Linked DNA regions of Homo sapiens: region 2 is linked to region 1. Evidence: promoter capture Hi-C in human tissues and cell types (Jung and others, 2019). All regions are on one chromosome and are shown on one strand. The core of a region is centred on a gene start or on the middle of the fragment in contact, and the rest is flanking DNA. Distances in the headings are between cores, read along the strand shown.

Region 1 (3,040 bases), core at 337-2,836:
CTACCCAGACAGCCACCATCTTTACTTTCTATGGAAATGCGGGTGCCCACTGAGGAAGAGGATGAGATGGGATGAGAAGGGGAAGAAAAATAACATGGTCTTTGAACCAACGTTTTCCCCTTGTCCTGGAGAACTCTTTGTCTGGCTGCTGAACACGTTTGCCAGATCAAGGAAAAGAATCAAAACAAACAAACAAACAAAAAGAGTAGGCGTCCCAGCCTAATTACAATAGGTTCCCAACACATTGCAGTCCCAAGCAGAGCATCATTTGAATCTTGTGTTAAAGCATTTGCTCTCTCGGTTCCCCAATAAAACATGCCTCGCACACCTTCTCCTTTGCATTTCTACAAAGGTTCCCCCAAACGGCCCGCTCTGTGTCACTCCTTTAAAAATGAGGACGTGGGGCAGGAACACACTGAAATATATGTTGACGGTGACTTATTATCCTGACGATGATATATACATACAAATAAATCCCTCTACCCCGCACCCCCACTGACCAGTCCATTACGCACAGGGAGCGCTTTCCAGCTGAAGAGGAGAGCGTGCAGGAAACGTTATTTACGTGCAATTACAGGACCATATACCACGGCATCTGCATCCTACACAAAGCCCGAGATGGTGCAAGAAGATACACGCTGAGCATGGCACAGACCAGCCGCGGCAACACGGAGCCAAGCCCTCGTCCAATCAGATCGTTGTTAGAAGGTGGACCTCAGGGTCGGCCGTGCCCGATTAGCCTTCCCTATTATGACACCACGCTCTGCCCAACATCTATATCCCACCGAGAGCAAATCCAATTCGTGTGGTTGCTCATTTCTCAAACTGCCGAACCCTTTCTTTTATCTGCATCCCTGCTATTCGTTCCTCAAAAAGCCACCAGAAGGCCTCGGTGCCCCCTTTCCGCCTCGATTTCTCTTTTCACCTCTTCCCATTCCTCGAAAGGATTAAATGTTTATCTCTCCAACGCGCAAGCTGGAAAGGCGGAAGGCGAATGCCTCTATGCTGCTCCGGCAAGCGCCTGCGGGGCTGCGAAAAGTAAAGGCAACGAACAACGTGGGGGAAATCGTCGCGAATCGATCGGCCACAATAGTTGGAATCCCAGGAGCGCTCCAACTTACCCAAAATATGACATTGAAGCCAAATATGAAGTATTTGATGCAACAACTGACTTCAGGACCCTTGTAGTGCTTCCCGGACATCCTCTGGGTTCATGAAGACACTTGCCCCGGCAGCCCGAGTTTGGAGCTCCGAAGCACCGTTGCTCGGAGCAGCCCGGCGGGGAGCAGGAGCTCAGGGACACCGCACGGGGCCGCGGCGCTGGCGGCCTGGGCTCAGCCGCGCGGGGACCGACCGGCGGAGAGCGGCTCCCGCACCTCCAGCCCCTCGCGCGCCGAGGCCGCCGGAGCCGGGGTGGCCGCGAGAAAGCAGGGAAGCCGCGCGCTGCAAGCTCAAGCCTCGCCGACGCTAGCCCCGAACACAAAGCGAGCGCCCGCGTCCGTGCGCCAGGCGGTCGGTCCGTCGGTTCGTCCCCGGGCTTCGGGCAAAGGCGGCCGCGGCAGATGCTGGTGGAGACGCCGCTCGCTTGCTCGCCCGCCCGTTCGCGCGCGCCCTCCCACCCCTCGCTCCGCCCGCCTCTCGCTCCGCCCGCCCGGCCGGCTGCTCCTCCGCCCGCGCCGCCCGCAGCTCCGCCCGCCGCCCAAGCCTTGGCTAGGCGCGCGCGCGCACGGGGTCGGGCGCTCCCGGGCGGCGGTGGCACCACGTAGCCGCCTCCTTCCACCGCTCGCTTTATCCCCGCCCCTTCTCGGGCCAACCCCAAGCGCCGCTGACCCCGAACGTCGCTGCGGGGTAGGTAGGGGGTGGGAGGGTGGAGGACCGCAGGCGAGAGGGAGAAGGAAGGGCGCCCGGGGAGCAGGCTGGCAGAGTGACCGGGATTGATGAGCGGCGCAGCTCTGGAGGGACGCGGGCGAGAGGGTCGCTCCTCGGGGAGAGGGCTGGGTGAGTGAGGACCTGCGAGCCACCCCCGACACCCCTTCCAGGGTAGCCACACTGGCGCCCCCTCCTCCACAACAGGCTTATGTGGCTAGAGAAGATGCGATGCCACTGGACAGGGAAGGAAAGTCGTCGTGGACTTCGCTGAATGGAAAAGGGGGTAGTTGGGGAAGGTGGAGAAAAGAGCCACGGGAAGTGGGAGGAAAGGATGAAGGGATGGGACGTTGAAAAGGAAAGCTTCCTGAATCCCTGTGTGACTCTAACCCAACCTCCCCACCTACCGGAGAAATGGGTTTTATCCTAGAAATGGGGACGAGGAAAAAGAGATGGCTCAAGGGAGTCCTGGCCCGGGATGCGATCCTCGCCCTAGGGTCTATTGCAACCACACAAACCCGGACAGCGCACGCTCCCCCCTACCCCGACAGAATAGTGCCTAAGAAACCTGCTTGCCTCCTAACTCTAGGAAGGAATCCACAACGGATTCCAGGGAGGTCTTCTGGGGAATCTGAATTGGGTTTTTGGATCACGAACCATTAAGCTTTTGAACTCTGGGGAAGAATAGAACAGGTGGCTGGAAATTGTTTTAGAACCCTACCTGAGCAGGTGTGCTCATTAGTTGCTTATCCGCCCTCCTCCTGGAGCACTTTCATAGGTGTTGGCAAAGCAGGTACCAGTATTTCACGGAAGGAGAAGGAAGAACCGCCCAGGACTGTGTATAAATGTCTATGGGAATATTTTTAAGGATTCAAAAGGCTAGAAGGAGGTGAGATCAAAAAATTTTTCCAGCACCACCCAGTGCAACCCGATCCTGGACACAGAAATCTAAAAGATGATACTTAAATACTTGAGTTTGAGAGCCTCTAGTTATAAGGTTTCCTACGTAACAACCTCTCACTTTTCTCAAAAACTGGCTAGTTGACAACCGGCAGTCAAGTTTTGGCTAGTCAAGAAGCTACTTTTTCCTGCAATAAACCACATTTAGAGATAGTACTGGGCTTCAGCAGGATTGAGGCTATATTGAGGTCGCAAGTATGAACGAGGTACCCAC
Region 2 (2,727 bases), core at 133-2,632, 410 kb before region 1:
GGGTTCAAGTGATTCTCGTGCCTCAGCCTCCCGAGTGGCTGGGATTACAGGCATGCACCACCATGCCCCGGCTAACTTTTGTGTTTTTAATACAGGCGGGGTTTCACCACGTTGGCCAGGCTGGCCTTGAACTCCTGGCCTCAAGTGATCCACCCACCTTGGCCTCCCAAAGTGCTGAGATTACAGGCATGAGCCACCAAGCCTGGCCAAAATATTATTAAATATATATAATTAATAATTATGTAATTATAATATTTGAGGAGTGTTCACAAATTTTAGTAAGGGGTGCATGATCATAAAGAAATTTGGAAATCACTGCTTTAGTAGAACCACTCCCGTCATGCCTCAAATTTCTGTTTACTTCTGTTATGTTGGGAGGTGGAAGTCCCTCTGTCATCTACCACAATTTGCTCTTTCATTCCCATACTGCTTTGTAATCTTCTAAACTGAACCATCAGTTCTACCTCAGCCTTTCCAATCTACCCTCAAAAAATTCTGGATCTAGGATCAATAAACTTCCTGTTGTAGCTAATATCCACAGATGTTTCCCATTGGATCACATCTCCTGGTACTGATATCATTGTGAGTCCCTTCTCTTGAATCTGGATTGGCCTTGTGCTTCAATTTAATCAAAAGAAAAAGGCAGAAGTGCTACTGTGCCAATTCTGGGTCTAAGTCCCAAGGAGGCCTAGCAGCTTCTACCTTTGCACTTTTGCAAGCCCTGAGCTGCCATGTAAAAAGTCCAGCTATACTGCTGGAAGGTTCATGTGAAGAAAGAGAGACCTTGAGATGAGAGAGAGAGAGAGAGAGAACTAGCCATCCTACCTGAGCCCAGCTATCCCACCATCTCCACTAAAGCAGGTACCAGTTATGTGAATGAGCCATTTTGGCTGTTTCAGCCCTATCAAAGCCTCCAGTGATTTCAGCTCCATTTAACATCATGTGAATCAGAAGAATCACCCAGCTGGGCCCAGTCAACCTACAGTATCTTGAGGGATAATAAAATTGTTATTTTAAAACACTGAGTTTTCACATGGTCTATTGGGCAGCAATACATAACAAAACCCTATCTTACATACTCAATCCTCTGGGAATTTTCCCTTCAAATTTTTGACTTTAAGTAACTTCCCATTTGAGGACAAAATTTTACCCAGTAGTCCTCTCAAGTGACATCTGCTTTTTCCCTCACACCCCACCTACTACAGGCCCAATACATCACACCCATGTGATGACTCAGCTAGTAACCTTTCTCTCAGTTTCTAGACTTCTTAATTTTTTCCCTACTCCTCCTTAACCACCTGTTCCCATGGTCACACCCTAAAACTTACAAACTGAAACACCTCTGAAATATAAATTTTAAACATTTTATCCTTTCAGTTCACATGTGCTATTACTTGCACTGCAACCATTACTTGGCCACATCAGGACCTCAAATAAACAATGAAATATTGTTGAGGAAAATAACACGACCAGGCTGACATACTAAACTCTTCATCAATGATTCCAAACCTTAAATGGCCATTCAACACTGCCCAGCAAATACTACTTTATTTCTGCCTTAGGTTTGCAATCATAATTTTGGACACAACGACTTCATGCTCTCTTCTCTCCTCAAATCTTCTATCTCCCATGCCCCTTCTCTTACCTTCCATTAATGACCCCTTCTCTTGCTTCATAAATATAATCGAAGTTATTCAGTGGAGACTTTCCATCTTCTTGACATCAAATCTACCAACCCCCCTGTATATGCATGGTCTTCATTTCTGTTACAAAGGTTCACGTTGGGTGTCCTTCTCTCAGGATCCTCACCCACTCCTGCCTCTCCAAAAGTTTTGTACCTCTAGTTATTCTGTCTACCCTGTGTCACCAACAGATTATTTCCTTCAGTATAAAACAACAACAAAAAATATTTTAAGATCTCATATTTCCCCTACTATGCCATTTCTCTGCTCACCTCCACAGCATAACTTCTTTTAAAAAGTGTGTGTACACACACAATCATTTACTAGTTCTTCAAACCCTAAATCTAACTTCCCTTCCCAGTATTCACAGAAATTATTCTTGCTGACTCACCAACAATTTTCATGTTGGCAAATCCAGAGTATAATTCTGTTGCCATCTTATTTCTCTCCCAGTTTTCCTTATTTCAGTACATGACGTGGTCATTCATCCAATCACTTAAACCAGGACTTTAATATTTAACCTAAACTCCTCCTTTACATTCTCTTCTAAATCCAATTCATCAGCAAGCCCCAGATTTTCTACCTGTAGAAAAGCTTGTTTTTCTCCTTCTCCACCACAACTGCCCTGGTGCAGCCTCTGCATGTCTCACCCTGATCTCTGCAACAGCCTCCTGGAAGCTCACCTTATTTCCACTTATCTCCATAGCTGCCAGAGTGATCTTTCCAAACTGTCGGTCGGTCTATGTAGCTTTATGGGTAAAACGCTTTCAATGCTTTCTTTTAGTATTTAAAATGAAATTCTGATTCCAAATCATGGCCTAAAAGACCCATCTGATAGGAGTGTAAGGATAATATTTACCCCCACTCCACACATTTCATAGAGAGGAGAGAACTTTCTATCAACAGGAAGAAGACCATGGAAACATTCCTGGTCCCTCTCATTAACTGCCTCATCTACTCTCATCCCTTAGTACTCCTTTCTCTCCCTGAGGGGAAGAGAGAATCCTCTCATTGGTGAGAGGGGAAGAGAAATTGAGCATGTGTG

What was found. The method cuts DNA at HindIII sites, captures the fragments that hold promoters and counts their contacts. A contact is called where the count stands out against the background at its distance.
Region 2: a contact is called between a fragment that was not itself captured here and the fragment with the promoter of TSPAN5 in region 1, in 1 of the 25 tissues and cell types used here (spleen).

Annotation. Positions count from the first base shown.
Region 1 is chr4:98,657,025-98,660,064 of GRCh38, forward strand. It overlaps TSPAN5 (tetraspanin 5), which reads right to left and starts at 1,587. Exons shown (of 8, transcript NM_005723.4): 1 at 1,122-1,587. The coding sequence starts at 1,202. It overlaps TSPAN5-DT (TSPAN5 divergent transcript), which reads left to right and starts at 1,878. Exons shown (of 3, transcript NR_148380.1): 1 at 1,878-1,998. LOC112267901 (a long non-coding RNA gene) reads left to right here and starts at 1,699. Exons shown (of 3, transcript XR_939016.3): 1 at 1,699-1,848. RefSeq lists silencers at 1,152-1,311, 1,565-1,744. The HindIII fragment of the contact is 6,297 bases long and covers 1-2,894 here.
Region 2 is chr4:98,247,960-98,250,686 of GRCh38, forward strand. No RefSeq gene overlaps it. Among named protein-coding and RNA genes, the nearest start is that of RAP1GDS1, 12 kb to the right of the region's middle. The HindIII fragment of the contact is 4,160 bases long and covers 1-2,727 here.